Regions from separate parts of the Homo sapiens genome. Here region 2 is linked to region 1. Evidence: promoter capture Hi-C in 16 types of primary human blood cells and fetal thymus (Javierre and others, 2016). All regions are on one chromosome and are shown on one strand. The core of a region is centred on a gene start or on the middle of the fragment in contact, and the rest is flanking DNA. Distances in the headings are between cores, read along the strand shown.

Region 1 (3,664 bases), core at 807-3,306:
AAACATGTCTTCCAACAGTCACCCTGCATTCTTGGCAGGAACTGAGTAGCAGTTGCTCTGTTTAGCAGTTGCTCTCTTTAGATGGGGCACTCACTTTTTTTTTTTTTCTTTTTAGACGGAGTCTCACTCTGTCGCCAGGCTGGAGTGCAATGGTGTGATCTTGGCTCACTGCAACCTCCACCTCCTGGGTTCAAGCGATTCTTCTGCCTCAGCCTTCTGAGTAGCTGGGACTACGAGTGCCCGCCACCACACCTGGCTAATTTTTGTTTTTAGTAGAGACGGGGTTTCATCATGTTGGCCAGGCTTTGGTCTCGAACTCCTGACCTCAGGTGATCCGCCCACCTCGGCCTCCCAAAGTGCTGGGATTACAGGTGTAAGCCACCGCGCCCGGCCAGGAATTCACTCTTCATCACTGTCCCCACCACCCCCTAGTGCCTCCTTGACACTGTTAGTTGCCATTCACCATCCTGTGGAGCTTGTATTTTCTTTCGCTGGTCCTGCTTTACTCATTTTCATTACCTGTTGGCATTTGTTTGTGACTCCTCTAGGGGTTTGGGGAATACAACTGTCTTCATGTGAGGGCTTGGTAGAAGTGCCTCTGTAGAGCCAGGTGCAGTGACTCACATCTTTAATCCCAGCATTTTGGGAGGCCGAGGCGGGCGGATCATGAGGTCAGGAGATCGAGACCATCCTAGCTAACATGGTGAAACCCTGTCTCTACTAAAAATACAAAAATTAGCCGGGTGTGGTGGCATACACCTGTAGTCCCAGCTACTTGGGAGACTGAGCAGGAGAATCGCTTGAACCCAGGAGGCGGAGGTTGCAGTGAGCCGAGATCGCGCCATTGCCCTACAGCCTGGGTGGCAGAGGGACACTCCATCTCAAAAAAAAAAAAAAAGAAGTACCTCTGTAGAATGACACCCCAAGTAATCTGTTTACTTTGCATGCACATCTTCTCGAGCCCTGCCTTTCAATCTGAGCCACAGGCTCTTCAAAAATGTTCAATAATTATATTTAATATATTTTAAACAACCACAGTTTAAGAATTCTAATTTAAACAAAAAAAGTCACAGATACAACAAAATGTGTTATCAAGCACATTTAATTCACTGGCAACCACAAGACATTGATTGTGCCCCTAGGTTACGTAGAAGGCCGTAGAAATGAACTCGCCATCGCTGTGCGATTGAAGAGTTTAGCTTGATAGTGCAAGGCCGGTGGCTGAAAAAAATGCTACCGTTTGCCCTATTCCTTGTCAAGACTTTCTCAGTACTGACTCTTGAAATAAATTGACTTCTTGAAGCTAGCATAAGACTGCAAATGGCCATTGCAACTGCCATTTCAAATTTCTGAAGATGTATTAGAAACGAAGAACCCACTGCCGTCGGGGGAAAGAGGACCTGGGCAGATAGAAGGAAAGAATGGAAGACATTTTTTCTCCCTTGGAAAGGCTTTCGCCATATAACTACTGCACATTTTAATATATTGACAACACTGGACATTTTTCCAAAAGTAAGTAAAAACCTTCATTGTTCAACTTTATAATAAGCCAATGATTACTTGTGGATTCATTATGATAATAAAGCACTTCTATGGGGATTTTCTTTTTTTTATGATAGGTTTTGCTTTAGAAAACAATTGAAAGCCACTTTTCTGGGAAAAAAAACAAAAAACAAAAAAAAACGCTGTTTGCGGCAGCCCCAATTCCCTAAGCATTATCTGGTGGGAGATGTGTTGCAGCGAGACCTCCCACCAGTAGGTGGCACTGCGCGCAATGCTCGCACCTCCCCTCAACACCCTTTCTCTCAGCAATGGCGGGTGATGGTGGGGGTCCTCTCTTTGCAGGGCTGGCCATTCTAATGCCTGACCTCAGGTGCAGACCAGTGTTCCGTTGCGCGGGACTCCTGACCTCGAGGAGGTTTAGAGAAAACAATGGTGTTCTCTGTGTACCCTTCCGCGAGGGCTGGGGAGTATACCGCCGCGCAGAAGACGCAGGCCAGGGGAGAATTCGCGCCGGGCGGCAGGCGGGGTGGCGGGCAGCCCCTGGGCGGGCGGGGTCCTGGCGAGAAGCGAGCCGGCGGCCTGAGGAGGCGACTGACTGAGCAGCGCACCCGGGGAGCAAGGAGGCGCGGTGAACTGAGCGGCCCCTGAGCTGACAGATACACTGCGCAGCTGGAACGGCGAGCGAGCCGACGGGCGAGTGAGGGGCGCAGCCATGATCACCTCGGCCGGTGAGTGCGGCCCGTAGCCAGCGCCTGGAGGGAGGAGCCGCCGCCGCGCCGGCTTTTAGCTGAGTCAGGGCCGGTGACTGGGCGCCTCCCGGCGGAACGCCGGCCTGGGCAGCTTCTTGCTGCCCAGGGCCCACCCCCGGGCCGGGGGGCTGGGAGTCTGATCAGGTCACTGCGTGCTTCTCTGGCTTGAGGGAATCGAGCCGGGTCGACCGCCTCGGCATCCCTCCCCAATCACACCCCAGCGCCAGGACCCGAGGGGCTTCCTGGGCCTTCCCCTGACCCCAGAAGGGCTTACCTTTTTTCTGTGCCTCCCATTCTTGGCCGTGTGAGGTCGTCCAGCCCCAGTTCTTGCCCGCAGGGGGCCGGGGTGGGATGGGCCCCTGTGCCATTGAACAGTAAGGCAAACCCCCCTGATCGGGCAGCCTAACTGCTACAGAAGTGTTTCTGGACGTGGCCGAGCTCCATTCGCCTTAGAATGAAACCCGAAATTAGGTTTGAGGTGGGTCATTTCTGGGTCCGATCCAAGGGTGTTCATTCAAAACACCCAGAGAACTTTTGGGTTCGGCGAAGACCCTAAAGACGCCCTGGAGATACCTTTATACTGAGAGCCTACTTATACCCTTTCGAGGTTATGTGCTCAGTCTGTTGACTGTACATTCAAGAAAGAATGGATGGATCTGCGGAGCAGGTTTCATACGCGCAAACCATTGCATAGGTAGATTCACGTAGTGACATTTGCAATGGAGTAAGTTACAGAGATCAAGTTTCAATTGGAGACTTAAGCTCCCCGTTACAGATTGACTTGCATATAGCTGTCCAGAGCCTTGGTGCTTTTTTCCGTTGCCTATTTACATACCCTTTTCTCATTTTCTTACTCTGTGTTTGACCCACAAAGAAAGCATTTTATTGTAAACAAACTGGTGAGCAGAAGACAGTAATCTGAATGGTAAGGCGATCAAAACTTTATTTTTATGAGGATTGGTTAAGGAGATCGTTGGAGATACTGGGAGACGTAGTTACTTTCAAACATTTGAAGAGCTGTCACTTGTACCTGAAATAAGACTTTTTGTCCCCAAGAGATACAAGTGATCGCGAGATGAATTTTAGTTCAGTATCAGGAAGTTTTTCCAGTCAGAGCTTTGTAAAGATCAAATAAACACTCAGTTTCTTGCCACCTATAGGCCTCATTCTATTTCAAATCCATCCATTACCAATGTTTCTTCTAACTCGGCCCAAACCACCTTCATCTCTTGTCTGGGTTACTATATCAGCCTTAAGGCTTTGTTTTCGACCATTACCTCCGTACAGCCCGTTTTTCTTGTGGACTATGCTTTTTAAAACTTTAATCACATAATACTTCTTTGCTTACAATCCACCAGTGCTTACATTGTGTTTAGAGCAGCCGTGTCCAACCCTTTGAATTCGAGGACTTT
Region 2 (3,664 bases), core at 502-3,001, 340 kb after region 1:
AGCCAGGGAAGCCAGGGCCACACTTGCAGGGTGAAGTGGGGAACTCGGAAGGCTGGGCAGTGGAGCAAAATGCTTGGTGCCCTGCGGGAACCGGTGGCCAAGGCTACACTGGGATGAAGGGAGCCGTGGAGCTGCAGAATCTGCGGGTGGCCCTCAGTGGCAGGCAGCCAGGCCAACAGGGGCTTTGGGCTGCAGGTCAGCCCCTCCCCTGCTCTGGAACTTTTGGAGGGCCATTACAAAGGACATCAGCCCCAAGATACTCCTCTGAAATTCTGCCTGAAAGGCCCTTCACATTCCCTAATTGGCACTTACAACATTCCAGAACATTCTATGGTACCTTAAGTTTCTCCTCCCCCTCCAAAGGGCCCTTGAACCTTAAGGATAGGGCAGAAGGGGCTCCTCACCCTGGCCTCGAGGGCTTAAGATCCAGCTGAGGACTCCTAGCCTCCCTGTGTGCTGGGCAGGAAAGTAGCTCCATGTCACTGCTGTCCCTGGGAAAGGAAAAAAGGTTGAGGAAGGGCTCAGAGCCAGCCTTCAGACCAGGCAGGAAGGGTTCAGAGCCAGCCTTCAGGCCATGCAGGCCTCCTGGATGTGCTTACTAACTCTGGGCTCGCTGTTCTCTGAGCTGGCTGGGAGTTCCCCTCTGCACCCCCGTTTCCTCCCCTGTAAGGTGGGAATAATAGCGTATGTCTCTAGGATTAAGTGAGCCAGTCATGCATGGGCCGAGAACCAGGTTTGGCATATTGTAGCTGCTCAGTGGACGTTAGCTGTTATGATTGGACCACAACGTGCTTCCGTTTCAATTCTGTGGGCCTTTTGGAGGTCCTGCTGGATGCTAAGCACCGAAACCTCAACCCGGAACAAGACCAGAACAACCTGAGCAACAACAGGACCAGCGATGGCTCTCCCTGCTGGAGGATTCTGGAAGTCACCTGGCTGGACCAAGCCCTCTCCGTGTTCTCTGTCAGCCCACTCCCCAGAGCCGCTAGGCCTGATGTGCACAAGCAGACTAATAAAGGCTTGAGGACAAAAAGGGTTTTGAGTGATAAGTGAAAAAAGAAAGGAGATAGGGCTGGGCCAACAGGCCTTCCCTTGGTGGTGGGGAGCCCTCAGAGGTGGGAGGAACCCCAGAGGTGAAGAGAGGGACATGGTGGGGGCACAAAAAAAGCTTCCAGAGCCACAGGCCTGGGCGAGTCCTGACATGGAGCCCAGTCTCATACGGCCTCTTTCCCTAGTGGCTGGCTTTGCTCCTGGCCCTAGGTAGCCCAACAGCTGGGCAAGGGGTCCGTCTGGTCAGGGGAAAGGTGCAGGGGCAGAAGGTAGCAGAGGGAGAAAAGGACACCCTGTCTGCCTCTGGCCCCAAAGACAAGTCCGAATGGGGCCAGAGGGAAATGGCTGGGCCTTGGGGTGCCCCAGGGTCTTGGAGGGGACCGGGTGTTCAGGTTTCGCACAAGTACAGGAGGGACCGGCGACCGCCCTCCCCCCGCCCCGGGAGGCTCCGCCAGGGACAGGCGTCCCCGGGATTGGAGGTGACCCCCGTGGGTTCCGAAGCCCCGCCTCGGCCATGCACTGTCTACTAGGCGCGCTTGGGGAGCCTAGGGGCCGTCTCGGAGAAATGGGGTGGTCCCCGCCAGGCGGCGGCGGGGCGGGCCCTGGGCGCCGAAGGGGTTAAGGCACCTGGGCCACCGCCCCTGCCGGCCCCTCCTCCCGCGGCCGGGAAGAGGAAAGTCGCGGCGGGGGCGCGGCCCGGTCTCCGTCCCCACCCGCCCGCCGTCCCGCCGGCCCGAGCCGTGGCGCCCAGAGCTGCGAGCCGCTCGCCCCTCCGCCGCTCCGGCCCGGGCCGCCATGTCGCTGTGGTGAGTGGGGCTGGGGGCCGTCGGGGGCCTGGGCGGGGGCGTGGGCCCGGGGCTCCCCCTCCTCCGTGGCCACAGACGGGCGCCGGGACTCCCGGGATAGGAGATGCCCCCGCGCGCGCCGCGCCGGCCTCAGTTTCCCGGGGGCGGATGGGCGGGCGGGCGCGGCGGCGGCGGCGGGAGATGTTCGCGGTACGCGGCCCCGGACCCGTGGGGGACGTCGAGGGGTCTCGGGGCGCCGCGCTCAGCTCCCCGGCCCCGCGGCCCTGGACACCGCTCCAGGACCCTGGCGGCTGGGACCCCAGGTCTTGCCGGCAGCTGGGTCCCCTCTCCCTTCCAGACCCCTGAGGGCCCCCTGCGTCCGGGCCACTCTCCTCCTCTCGGGGCTTCCTTCCGCGGGACCTCGGACCGCCGCCCGCCCGGCCCCTCTCCGCCCCTCCCGGGCTTTCCCTACGAATGGAGCGGACCCGGCAGGTGGAGCGCCCGCAGCCCAGGGCCTCGCCGCCTTCCCGGTGCACCCCCCGACCTCCCCCGTCCCGGCCTCGGTGGGCGGCTTCCCTGGAACCCCTAGGGCTGGCAGGGCCGGATCCGGAGCCCTCCGTTTCCTCCCCGGAGAGCTGGACCTTGGGTCACACCCCCCAGCCTGCACCTAAGGTGCCCCTGTCTTCCTCCAACCACATGCCCCAGCAACCTGGGGACCCTATGGGGAAAATGTCGCTCTATGGGGCTCAGCCTGCATTCACCCTGGGGCCTGGACCTGCAACCGGACCAGCCCTCAGGGCAACCCAGGCGTCTCCACGGGCTGCCTGTCTCTCCTGGCACCCTGCTCCTCCCCCTTGGAGGTCAGCGCCATCTCTCTGCTAGGCTGGCCCTGGAAGGCCACTCTGCTGTCCCCAGAGCTCTCAGCCCCCAGGTCTCCACTGGGGAGGGTGGGGCAGGTGTCCTGGCAGCCCCCGGAGGGTGAGATGAAGAGAGGAGGTCCTTCAGGACAGGGGCTCAGGCCCCAGGGCTTGGGACGACCAGCACTCCTGGCAGAGAGCTCTAATTTCTGCTTCCGAAATGGGTGTGGACCGGGGTTGGGGTGGGGGGGTCTCTGGGCAAGAAGGGTCCCTCAAGGGCTGGAGCTGCAAATGTGCCCCCTCCCAGGGAGTAGAGCTGTAGCCTCATGTCTTCTAATGGGGTGTTATGAGCTGGGGATGTTAAGGTAGGGGTGAGGGGCAGTGCCATGCTAGAGGTGCTCACTGCATCCTTGGGCCTCCATCAACCATGAGGGCTGCTCTTTGTTGGGTGAGACAGACTGGAGAAGGGGGAGGAGGGCCAGTCTTCCTCAGGTCCCAAGCTCGAGCCACTCTCCAATGTGCCCCACATGTGATGGAGCTCCCGGGCGGCACAGAGGATCAGAGGGTGCCCTCTCAATGACTCTGGCTCTGAGTCACCTAATGATACCGATACCTACTGCTGTGGGTAGGTACACCGCAGGGAAATGAAAGGCATTGGGGTTCCAGGCGTGGGGAACAGGGCAGAGGTTTCCACCTGAGGCCCTCCTGTTAAGGTGACAGCATTCCCCTAACTGTGCACCCGCTGCCTGGTACTTTATATAGCACTCCAATCCTGTGTTTTAGCCCCATTTGGGGGAAGAAGAAATCGTGGCTCAGAGTGGTTGTAAACCACTCATTCAGCTTGTAAGCGTCAGGGCCTGATTCCACAGTGCTCCTTGAGGAGAGGGCAGGGTGGGAGAAAGAAAGGGCAGGGTGGGAGAGGAAGCGGGACCCTACCCTGACAGCTTAGGGACTCCGGGACTGAGCCTGTGC

The links. Contacts are between HindIII fragments. The CHiCAGO score rates a contact against its expected background, and 5 or more counts as called.
Region 2: the fragment with the promoter of B3GNT7 here is called in contact with the fragment with the promoter of PSMD1 in region 1 in 14 of 17 cell types (M0 macrophages, M1 macrophages, total B cells and 11 more); the score reaches 18.8 in M0 macrophages.

Annotation. Positions count from the first base shown.
Region 1 is chr2:231,054,811-231,058,474 of GRCh38, forward strand. It overlaps PSMD1 (proteasome 26S subunit, non-ATPase 1), which reads left to right and starts at 2,057. Exons shown (of 25, transcript NM_002807.4): 1 at 2,057-2,231. The coding sequence starts at 2,216. It overlaps LOC112268432 (a long non-coding RNA gene), which reads right to left and starts at 2,936. Exons shown (of 2, transcript XR_002959456.2): 1 at 2,527-2,936. RefSeq lists a silencer at 1,958-2,147. The HindIII fragment of the contact is 9,212 bases long and covers 1-3,664 here.
Region 2 is chr2:231,393,959-231,397,622 of GRCh38, forward strand. B3GNT7 (UDP-GlcNAc:betaGal beta-1,3-N-acetylglucosaminyltransferase 7) reads left to right here and starts at 1,752. Exons shown (of 2, transcript NM_145236.3): 1 at 1,752-1,856. The coding sequence starts at 1,846. RefSeq lists enhancers at 1-538, 834-883, 3,152-3,664, 3,294-3,363 and a silencer at 1,434-1,903. The HindIII fragment of the contact is 8,411 bases long and covers 1,167-3,664 here.